Regions from separate parts of the Homo sapiens genome. Here regions 1 and 3 are each linked to region 2. Evidence: promoter capture Hi-C in 16 types of primary human blood cells and fetal thymus (Javierre and others, 2016). All regions are on one chromosome and are shown on one strand. The core of a region is centred on a gene start or on the middle of the fragment in contact, and the rest is flanking DNA. Distances in the headings are between cores, read along the strand shown.

The links. Contacts are between HindIII fragments. The CHiCAGO score rates a contact against its expected background, and 5 or more counts as called.
Region 1: a fragment that was not itself captured here is called in contact with the fragment with the promoter of BNIP1 in region 2 in 2 of 17 cell types (monocytes and activated CD4 T cells); the score reaches 5.3 in monocytes.
Region 3: a contact is called between a fragment that was not itself captured here and the fragment with the promoter of BNIP1 in region 2, in 9 of 17 cell types (naive CD4 T cells, naive CD8 T cells, M2 macrophages and 6 more). The highest score is 9.6, in naive CD4 T cells.

The regions. Positions count from the first base shown.
Region 1 is chr5:173,014,488-173,018,355 of GRCh38, reverse strand. The region is part of intron 2 of ATP6V0E1 (ATPase H+ transporting V0 subunit e1); the gene reads right to left. Among named protein-coding and RNA genes, the nearest start is that of SNORA74B, 4.3 kb to the left of the region's middle. RefSeq lists an enhancer at 362-905. The HindIII fragment of the contact is 1,434 bases long and covers 1,349-2,782 here.
Region 2 is chr5:173,142,203-173,145,907 of GRCh38, reverse strand. It overlaps BNIP1 (BCL2 interacting protein 1), which reads right to left and starts at 1,377. Exons shown (of 6, transcript NM_001205.3): 1 at 1,279-1,377. The coding sequence starts at 1,362. RefSeq lists enhancers at 645-714, 656-1,184. The HindIII fragment of the contact is 7,780 bases long and covers 1-3,705 here.
Region 3 is chr5:172,994,788-172,999,010 of GRCh38, reverse strand. ATP6V0E1 (ATPase H+ transporting V0 subunit e1) reads right to left here. Exons shown (of 4, transcript NM_003945.4): 2 at 4,189-4,223. Among named protein-coding and RNA genes, the nearest start is that of ATP6V0E1, 13 kb to the right of the region's middle. The HindIII fragment of the contact is 3,189 bases long and covers 782-3,970 here.

The sequences.
Region 1 (3,868 bases), core at 816-3,315, 130 kb after region 2:
AGCCTACTCAGTGTGAAGACAACAAGGATGAAGACCTTTATGCTCATCCACTTCCACTTAATATAATAGTAAACATATTTTCTCTTCCTTATGATTTTCTTAACATTTTCTTTTCTCTACCTTCCTTTATTATAGGAACACGGGATATAATACGTATACAAATTATGTGTTAATTGACTGTTTATGTTATTGGTAAAGCTCCTGATCAACAGTAGGCTATTAGTAATTAAATCTGGGGGGATTCAAAAGTTATAAATGGATTTTCAACTGTGCAGGGGATCGGAACCTCTAACTTCCACGTTATTCAAAGGTCAACTGTGTATGAATTTGAATTTCTTTCATTGGTGGGCAGTGGTGTGGGGAGGAGGGCAGGGTTAAGGTAAACAAGCCCAACCAACCTCCAACTACCAATCTGGGAGAGTGAAATTTGGTAACATACTGCTATCCTTTCTGCATGGTACATTGGGATCTAGGGAATCCCTTTCTTTTCTTTTCTTTTTTTTTTTTTTTTTTTTGAGAAGGAGTCTCGTTCTGTTGTCCAGGCTGGAGTGCAGTGGCACGATCTCAGCTCACCACAACCTCCACTTCCTGGGTTCAAGCAATTCTCCTGCTTCAGCCTCCTGAGTAGCTGGAATTACAGGCACGCGCCACCATCCCCAGCTAATTTTTGTATTTTTAGTAGAGAAGAGGTTTCACTATGTTGGCCAGGCTGGTGTCGAACTCCTGACCTTGTGATCCGCCCACCTTGGCCTCCCAAAGTGCTGGGATTACAGGCGTGAGCCACTGCAGCCGGCCAGGAATCGCTTTTTTTTTTTTTTTTTTAGACGAAGTCTCACTCTCGTCACCCAGGCTGGAGTGCGATGGCACGATCTCGGCTCACTGCAACCTCTGCCTCCCGGGTTCAAGCGATTCTCCCGCCTCAGCCTCCCGAGTAGTTGGGATTACAGGCGCCTGCCACCACACTCGGCTAATTTTTGTATTTTTAGTAAAGATGGGGTTTCACCATGTTGGCAAGGCTGGTCTCGCACTCCTGATCTCACGTGATCCGCCCACCTCGGCCTCCCAAAGTGCTGGGATTACAGGGGTGAGCCACCACGCCCAGCAGGGAATCACTTTCTAAGGGTAAGTGGATATATCACTACAGCAGTCTCCTTTCACGCTTTCAGGACTTTAAATTTCCCTATAAGCGGGGAACTAGCCAAGCCCCAACTAGGCCATTATCCGGGTGGATCTTTTTTCTTTCATTTACTGTCATTTTTAGAGCTTTTCCAATCAGAGGATCAAAAGGCTGATTCTGATCACCAATGGAGAGATTGCTGGAGAATTAGCCAGCACCATATCAGAAGCTTGTGCCCACAGAAACAAAAGGTGATTTTGTGACAGGAAACATGACACCTGAGGAAAGCAGGCCAAAACAGATAGTTCAAGCTGACTCACTTAATAAACAAAAAGTTCATTCAGATGAGATTTTCTGATCCATCCTTAGAAGTAGGGTATTAAACACAAACACAATACTAAGACTTGTAGTTGAGGTTCAACATCATCCATCTGACATTATAAAAAAAGGAAGAGAACAGCACAGGCGGACACACTGAAAAGCTCTGTGACTGCAGTTGACGCTAATGGTGCAGAGCTAAGAGTCATGGAAAATTCCAAACTAACCAAGGACTTCCCCAATCCCGGCAGGCAATACAAGCTGCCTGAAAAAACACTTTCGTAAGAGACTGAGACAACTGGCCAATGCCTAGAAATACTAAAAAAATCCATTAGAATTTAAACTAGCCCCTATCTCCTTTTGTTACCAAGAATATAGCACAGAATGAAAACACCACTTCCCAGCACTTTGTAGGATGTTGTAGCGGAGTGGTTCTCCTCCCCAGCTGCAAATTATAATCACTCAGGGAACTTTTAAAATATACTGATGCTATTTCTGAGAGTGGAAAAAACATTGACTCCTTTTCCTCTGCTTTCACACCACAATAATCAACACAGAAGAGACTTCTACAGCCAAATGTGTGGGGATTTCTCCCCACCAACAAGCACACAATCAATTCTGCAGCGGACTCCAGCTGGGTGTCCTCCAATTCAATCCTGACATTATCTGCCTGGAGGTAGCATCAGCATCAGATCTCACAGGGTGAGGGCTTGGTTCCACAAGACCGCCCCTCACTTCTGATGCCAATCGCAAGCCCCAGGTTGTTCTACCTGTGCTTCTGACCAACTGGCTATAAATCGGGGAGGCTCTAACCTTTCTTAGGTTCAATTAATCTACTAGAGCAGCTCGCGGAGCTCAGGGAAACACGTTTTCTGGTTTACTATAAAAGATACTACAATCTGGGCATGGTGGCTCACGCCTGTAATCTCGACACTGGGAGGCCAAGGCGGGTGGATCACTTGAGCCCAGGAGTTCGAGATCAGCCTGGCCAACATGGTGAAACCCGTCTCTACTAAAAATACAAAAATCAGCTGGGCATGGTGGCACACATCTGTAGTCCCAGCTACTTGGGAGGGTGAGGCAGGAGAATCACTTGAACCTGGGAGGCAGAGGTTGCAGTGAGCCAAGGTCGCACCACTGCACTTTAGCCTGGATGACAGAGTGAGACTGTCTCAAACAAACTAACAAAAGATACTACACAAGATACTGATGAAGGGATGGACAGGGTGAGCTATGGAAAGGGGCACAAAGTTCTCATGCTCTTCCTGGGAACACCAGCCTCCAGGAATAGCTTCCAGCTTTCCTGAACCTCTCAGAACCCAATCCTTTTGGGTTTTTATGGAAGCTTCATTGTGTAGGCATGATTGATTACATCACGGGCCATTGGTGATCAGTTTAAGGTTCAGCCCCTCCCCCTTCCCCTATGGTTGGGCTGTGGGGCTGAAAGTCCCAACCCTCTAATCCTTCCTTGGTTCGTGATTAGATCCCATCCTGGAGCTACCAAGGGGCTGCCAATCATCAGTCAACTCATTAGCATACAAAGACACATGTCACTTTGGAGATTCTAAGGATTTTAGGAGTTGTATACCAGGAAATGGGAACAAAGACTAAATTTGTATTTCACAATATCACAATTTCACATATAACCTTTCATTTAATTCTTGTACTAGGAAACAGGCAGAGAGAGTCTAAGTGATTGGCCTATGGTCACAATGCTAATTAGGTAGTAGTAGATCCTAGACCAGGAATCAGATCAGATTACTGTTCCCACTTCAAAAAGTGACCTTCTGGAATATTTTAACTGAGAACATTTCAGAAGGCATTAATTTAGCTAAATCTAAATTGAGAATTCAGAAAATGAGAATCCATCCACTGAGCACTGATTAAGTTCAACACAAGCCTTTGGTGCCTTCACTAAAGAATATCCAGAAGAAAGAATGAAGACCCCTTTCTTGGTCAGGTCAGTATTTAGAAACTGTTTTTTCTTCGTATTTACCATTTCTCTGTGTTGGTATCATTTCAAGTCCTCGCTTCCCGTTAGTATGAAATACACAAAGTACTGTTGCTGAGTATAGTCACCCTATTTTGCAATCAAACATAGAAGAAACTTATTTCCTCTGTTTAATGTTTGTGCCCATTTTACGGGTACCCCACATGTTTGTACCCATTGTGCTACTCTTTATTCCCACAACTTTCCTTCCTTCCCAGTCTCTCATATCTATCATTCTACTCTTCATGTCTTTGACATCAAATTTTTTAGCTCCCACATATAAGTGAGAACATGTGATATTTGTCTTTCTGCACTTGGCTTATTTCACTTAAGATAATGGCCTCTAGTTCCTCCCATGATGCTGCAAATGACATGATTTCATTCTTTTTTTATGGCTGAATACTATTCCGTAGTGTACATATAACACATTTTCTGCATGCGTT
Region 2 (3,705 bases), core at 128-2,627:
ACTTTTTCTCTGGCTTATTCATTTAATCACACTTCTTTGCACCGTATTTGTTTATTCTGCATCTAATTTGGTTTATTCTGCATCTGGTTTATCTGGGGAGCCCTATTTTCCTGCACTTTTTGCCACACCTTGTTACAAACTCTGAGTCTACATCTAATGTTTAGTGACTTTGTTGAAAATGATTATTTTTAAAAACCAAGGTTTAGGCCGGGCGCGGTGGCTCACGCCTGTAATCCCAGCAATTTGGGAGGCCGAGGCGGGCGGATCACGAGGTCAGGAGATCGAGACCATCCTGGCTAACACGGTGAAACCCCGTCTCTACTAAGCAAAACACAAAAATTAGCCGGGCGTGGTGGCGGGTGCCTGTAGTCCCAGCTACTCAGGAGGCTGAGGCAGGAGAATGGCGGGAACCCGGGAGGCGGAGCTTGCCGCGAGTCGAGATCGCGCCACTGCACTCCAGCCTGGGCGACAGAGCGAGACTCCGTCTCAAAAAAACAAAAACAAACAAGCAAAAACAAGGTTTAAAACTCGGTTTCTTTTTGCTGAACTCATGGAACCGTGTCTACACTCCCAATTCTTGCCTAAGTCCACTCGTTTATTTTACCTCTACCCTTAAATGGCTTAAGGCGAAACACTTCATTTCCTATCTGTTCAAACGGGGTAACACTCTAAGGTGTTATTCCTAGGTTGACTTTCACAGTCCAGGTCCCAGTTTTGCCACTGACCCAGGTATGCCTTCTAACCTAGGCCTTGGCGCCGTACTCGATTTCCTCAAGCATAAAATCACAACTACGGTCCAGGTTACATTCGTTTCACCCGGTGCCTCCCGTGCCAGGTGGCCTTGGATGCCAGGAGAGCTGGCCAGCAGGGGGCGGGGCTAGCTGCCTCCCGGACGCTACCAGAGGATGCTGAAGCAGCGTCAGAGGGCGGGGCCAAGCAGGGTGACAGGTAGGTTGTGAGGTAGTCAGGGGCGGGGCGACGACCAGGGCTGCAGGTGGAAGGGGCAAAGCCGAGCCCCGAAGCAGTAGCTGAGTCAGGGGCGGAGAACAGTGGGGTGCTCTGGGGATGGGAGATCCGGCGGCACCCGGAAAAAGGATCAAGGCCAGCAGTCACCGGGACACAACCAAATGGGGACCGGGGGGGTAGCCGACCATGGGGCGGAGCCTGTGGTCTGGGAAACCAAGTGGGGAAAGTTCGGGAGTGACACTGCCAAGCTCACAGACCAGCAGAGCTTGGGTTAGGGCTGCTGGAGCCCGGCAGGGGTCCCGGGATCAGTACCTGAATAAGCGCCTTCACCTCCAGGTCAAATTTGACAATCTCTTGGTTACAGATCCGGACGTGGACGTCTTGGGGAGCCGCCATGTTGGGGACGCCGGCTACGGGCAGCGGCAGGACCCAAGTTCAAACGCGTTTTCGCACCACCTTCTTTCCCTCCCCACCCAGTCTCGGGGCAGCGCCCCCTAGAGACCGGCGAAAATGGCAAGCGAGGGTCACTGCGCAGAGTTGGGACTTTCCCTGACACGTGTAGGGAAATCAGCCTCTCCTCTTGGTATGGCCCTAATAACATGGAGAGGAAGGGAAGAGGGAATATCAAGAACGCTTCACAGTGGTCTCTTTCCATCTTCCTTCTGTCAGGCATTCTAATAACTATATATTTTTTACATAGAAAAAAAAAGACTGGAAGAAAAGTATCAATTGAGATGTCTCTGGAAAGTACCAGTAATAATTTTTTGTTTCTTCAAACTTTCTTATATTTTTAATATTTTCTACAGTGAGTATAAATTGTGGAGTAAAAGAGGAAATGATAAACGTCATATATTTTTTAAAGTATGGAGTTCAAGGCAGGTCGGTAGAGTACCTCCTATCACTCCAACACATGATCTAAGGGATCTTTGTAAAACACGAAATTGATCAAGTCACCTACCTGTATGCAGCCCTTCTATGGCTTCTCGTGTTTCCCTTTTGTATACAACTGGATTTATTAAATCTACCTTGCTAAGGTAGTTTTGATGGAAATGTCAGAGCAAACCCTCAACAAATGGTGGCTCTTTTATTTTTGTTAGTAAATAATCCAAGTTTCTTAGCTGGTCCTCAAGGCCATCAGCCACCCCGGCCATCAGCCACCGCACCCTGCGCCCTTCCTGGATTGCTCAAGCTCCTTCTGGATGTGTAGCCTTAGAATGTGGTGTTCCCTCTCCCTAGAAAGCGTTTCCCCCACTCGACCCCACTCCATCTGCATTTGTTCGGGTCACTTCAGCAAGCATAGATTGTGAGGACCTAAAGGCTTAGGACTTGAATGTTCATCTCTCTCTCTTTTTTTTTTTTTTTTTTTGTGGCGGAGTCTCGCTCTGTTGCCCAGGCTGGAGTGCAATGGCACAATCTTGGCTCACTGCAAACTCTACCTCCCAGGTTCAAGCAATTCTCCTGCCTCAGCCTCCTGAGTAGCTGGGATTACAGGTGCGTGCCACCATGCCCAGCTAATTTTTGTATTTTTCATAGACACGGGGTTCACCATATTGGTCAGGTTGGTCTCGAACTGACCTCGTGATCCACCCGCCTCGGCCTCCCAAAGTGCTGGGATTACAGGCGTGAGCCACTGTGCCCGACCATGTTCATCTCTCTTAATCCTCACAACCACCCTTGAAATTGTACTACACTATTATCACAGATCAGGAGTAGGGCTTAGAGTAAATTAAAACAAAAAACAATCAACCCTGTTGCAAGATTACCTATCTTGAAAGTGGCAAAGCCTAGGCCGGGCACGGTGGCTCATGCCTGTAATCCCAGCACTTTGGGAGGCCGAGGCGGGTGGATCACGAGGTCAAGAGATCGAGATCATCCTGGCTAACACGGTGAAACCCCGTCTCTACTAAAAATATAAAAATTAGCCGGGCGTGGTGGCGGACGCCTGTAGTCCCCGCTACTTGGGAGGCTGAGGCAGGAGAATGATGTGAACCCAGGAGGTGGAGCTTGCAGTGAGCCGAGATCGCCCCACTGTACTACTCCAGCCTGGGCGACAGAGCAAGACTCCATCTCAAAAAAAAAAAAAAAAAAAGAAAAAAGAAAGAAAGAAAGTGGCACAGCCTCTACTGAAAGCCATCTTTTCCCCAAAAAATCAATATGGTCCCCACCTGTTGTAAGCGGGGCTATGTGCTTGTCTGTGTCCCTACAGCCCTCTACACACCCTCTCGTAAGGTATTCATCACCCCACTGCACCTAATAGAGAGGCAGTGTATCACAGGCTTGGCATCTGCCTGGGCTCAAATCCTGTCCACCACACACTTCGCATGCCTGTGCCTCTGTCTCCTCGGAAGCTAACTGGTGATAATCAATTGCGCCTACTTCACAGGTTGGAGAATTAAATGAGAAAATACATGAAAAGCACCAAGCACAGTGTGCTAATGTGGCATATAGTAAGATCTCAATGCCCGTTAGCTGCTGTTATTCTACTACTAGCCCACATTTTGGGAGCACTTCCTATGTGCCAGGAACTTTGTACTAAGCGCTTCATGTGTGTCTCGCTTAACTCTTACAACAACTCTGTGAGGTAAAAACGGGGCAGAGAGGAATAATGACTTGCCCAGAGCAAATGGAGTTGCTAGGTCAAAGGATATATGCATTTAAAAATTCTGACATATTACCAAATTGCTCTTCATAGGGATTATGTCAATCCATACTCCCTCCAGCAACATGGCATAAATGCCT
Region 3 (4,223 bases), core at 1,127-3,626, 150 kb after region 2:
GTGCCCGCCACCACATGGGGCTAATTTTGTATTATTAGTAGAGATGGGGTTTCACCGTGTTGGCCAGGAGTTTCGAACTCCTGACCTTGTGATCCGCCTGCCTCAGCCTCCCAAAGTGCTGGGAATACAGGCATAAGCCAACACGCCCGGCCCCCATTTTCCCTTTTATAAGGTACCACCACTGACCTTACTGCTCACATTGCAGAGATCTTCAAAGCAATAAAAACAAAGGCCTTTTCAATGACAGACCAATCCTTGACACCTGGATTGATATGGCGCTCCCTTACTGATTTCCATAGGCGATTCAGTAGGATAGGCTGATGGTCAACCATCGTACTAAAATCAGTTCTTGATGATACATGTATTTGCCCTCATTTACTCTTTTTTTTTTTTTTTTTTTTAAGATGGAGTCTCACTCTGATGCCTAGGCTGGATGCAGTGGAGCGATCTTGGCTCACTGCAACATCCACCTCCCGGGTTCAAGCAATTCTCCTGCCTCAGCCTCCCAAGTAGCTGGGACTACAGGTGCGTACCATCACGCGCAGCTAATTTTAAAAATTTTTTTTAGTATTGATGGGGTTTCACCATGTTGGCTAGGTTGGCCTTGAACTTGTAACCTCAGGTGATCTTCCCGCCTTGGCCTCCCAGAGTGCTGGGATTACAGGCGTGAGCCACCACACCAGGCTTCATATACTCTTTACAGCCAAACACAGTGATAAGAATTCCCTCCACATGCAACCTGTGTTCCACTCTGGAGGCTAAGTTATCACCTGAACAAGCTTCTTTTAACACTCTAACCAAAAAAAAAAAAAAAAAAAAAGACTAAATTTTAAGTTTCATCAGCTGGGCCTTAGTGTTTAAACAGTCAAACAACATCATTTATCACAACTTTTTTTTTTTTGAGACAGGGTATCACTTGGACCCCCAGGCTGGAATGCACTGCCGCAATGACAGCTCACTGTAGCCTTGACTTCCCCGGGCTCAGGTGATCCTCACACCTCCACCTTCCCGGTAGCTGGGACGACAGGCATGTGCCACCACAATCGGATAATTTTTTGTAGAGAAAGGGTTTCAACATGTTGCTCAGGCTGGTCTTGAACTCCCGGGCTCAAGTGATCTGCCCGCCTCAGCTTCCCAAAGTGGTGGGATTACAGGCGTGAGCCACCATGCCCGGCCTAGAACTTTTTTTTTTTTTTTTGAGACGGAGTCTCGCTCTGTCGCCCAGACTGGAGTGCAGTGGTGCAATCTCGGCTCACTGCAAGCTCCGCCTCCGGGGTTCACGCCATTCTCCTGCCTCAACCTCCCAAGTAGCTGGGACTACAGGCACCCACCACCACGCTCGGCTAAATTTTTTTTTGTATTTTTAGTAGAGACGGGGTTTCACTGTGTTAGCCAGGATGGTCTCGATCTCCTGACCTCGTGATCCGCCCGCCTCGGCCTCCCAAAGTGCTGGGATTACAGGCGTGAGCCACCACGCCTTGCCCCTGACCTTTAGTCTTTCACTTCCAATTTTGTGGAATGATATTTTAGGAGTAACAGATTTTTAAAGAAGAAGAAGAAAAAAAAAGACTGAATTTCCTTGCTTACTTTGCATATACAGACTGGATTTTTTTTTTAACAGCCATTTCCCCAAAGGAATGTGTCTTGCATATTACTGACATTTGGTATATTTCATTCATCGGAATATTTCTTGTTTTCTACGTGTTTCAAAAACCTGTGAGAAATACAGGACTTGATAACATTTTGAAGGCAGGAAAAACCCAAATTGTTTCTTCTTTGAGAGTCATGACTACCTTCTGGTGTGGAGAATTTGTCATTGGAAAATTTGACAATTTTGATTCTCACTGGTATGTTTAAAAACTGAATTAAAGGAATAGAATTTTTCTTTTGATATAGGATCACAAAACAATTCTAAAACCTACTGTTTTTACCACTGAAATTTAAACTGCGATATAGGTTTTAAATGTCTGGAATGCAACTGATAGGCTTTTCTTGAACTGTTAGTTTATTTGAAATAGAGTTTTTTCATGTTTAATTTGTATTTGAAAAAAAAAAAAAGAAAAAATTCCCCAAACCCAGATAACAACCAGAGCAAAATTGTTGTGCCTTCTATTTCTCTTTGATTTCAGTCTTGGCAATTGTTTAAAGAAAAGTAATTTTTTAAAAATCTGGATTTGTTTTATTAGGTTCAGAGTATGTGGGGAATTGTAGAATCCCTCTTTCATCACCTTGTATGTCTTCTGTTAACATATGTGTTATGCCTTATTCTAAAATTGATCTCAAATTGGAATGCCTTTGAAGACAGATGCTTCTATAGAGGTTCTTTGACCTAAATAGTTCAGCATTTGTATTTTTACTCTGATATCTGATCAGATTCCTAATCATAGCCCATAAGAAGGAATGTGACTTTATGTATGTATGTATGTATGTATGTATTTTTTTTTTTTTTGAGGCGGAGTCTCGCTCTGTCGCCCAGGCTGGAGTGCAGTGGTGCAATCTCGGCTCACTGCAACCTCTGCCTCCAGGGTTCAAGTGATTCTCCTGCCTCAGCCTCCCGAGCAGCTGGGACTACAGGTGTGCGCCACCAAGCCCAGCTAATTTTTTTTTGTATTTTTAATAGAGAATGGGTTTCACCATGTTGGCCAGGCTGGTCTCAATATCCTGACCTGGTGATCCACCCGCCTCGGCCTCCCAAAGTGCTGGGATTACAGGCATGAGCCACCGATCCTGGCCGGAATGTGACTTTAATACTGGACTTTGCTGATGTGCTTGTGTCCACATTTTCTCTTTAAATCACAGCTATTTTAAATCACAGCTATATGGTAAATTTTCTATTTTGTTATGGTCCTCTTTTATTAACGGGCATGCAGTGGGTGTTTCTTGGAAATGGCCAATTTTTATTAAAATGTTTCTGGAAAAAAAAGTCATGGTCTTTCATCTATAGGATGGGTCAGAACTGTTGCTTCCTACCTTACATGGGCACTAAACAGCACTTCTGTGAACACCAACACTTTCCATGTCTCTGAAGTCTCAGGAAGCTAGAAAGTTCTCTTCAAAAAAAGAGAATCACTGGTTCTAAACTCTAGAAAGAAATCCTGGCTGGGTGTAGTGACTCATGCCTGTAATCCTAGCACTTTGGGAGGCTTAAGATGGAAGGATCACTGAGGCCAGGAGTTCAAGACCAGCCTGGGTAACACAGTAAGACTCCATCTCTACAAAAATAAAAAAGTTAGCTGAGCATGGTGGCGCATGACTATAGTCCCAACTACTTGGGAGGCAGAGGCAGGAGGATCGCCTGAGCCTAAGAGTTTGAGGCTGCAGTGAGCTATGATTGAGCCATTCCAGCCTGGGTGACAGAGCAAGACCCTGTCTCAAAAACCTAAATTGAAAGAAATCCTTAGGATTATTTTTATGGTATGTGATCAATACATATATTTTGATACAGCTTACAATGAATTGTTAAAAAATTATCCTTAGTCTACTTGGTTATAATTCTAGCTCAATTTCTGTCCATCAGATAAACAAAAGTCACAGTAAAGAATAGCTTTATTAGCTCCATTAGTGAGATATTTCAGTAAAATAAGTAGATCTAAATACTTCACAATAGTATACCGGGCACAGTGGCTCATGCCTGTAATCCCAGCACTTTGGGAGGCTAAGGCAGGCGGATCACTTGAGGTCAGGAGTTTGAGACCAGCCTGGCCAACATGGCAAACCCGTCTCCACTAAAAATACAAAAATTAGCCATGCATGGCGGCGTGTGCCTGTAACCCCAGCCATTTAGGTAGCTGAGGCATGAGACTCACTTGAACCCAGGAGGCCGAGGTTGCAGTGAGCTGAGATCACACCACTGCACTGCAGCCTGGGCGACAGAGCGGGACCTTGTCTCAAAAGATAAATAAATAAGTAAATACTTCACCATAGTAAAATATAAAGTAGTATAATCATAATTTCCAGCTACTTATAAGCTTTAACATTTGTGCCAATTAAACAGAAGTTGTATTCCCAGAAGGATAGAGTATCTGTACAACTCTACATAAATATACTGAGCATATGAAAAGTGTGATATTTTCAATTTTAGGACACTATTTCTAGATATTACATGAGGGATGAGCTCCAATAAAACAAATGTGTAAATCGCACACACTACAAATACCAAGAATAATTACTTAAGAAAAAATTACTTACAAGAGATAGCAGCAAACTGAACAGGTCACCAACAT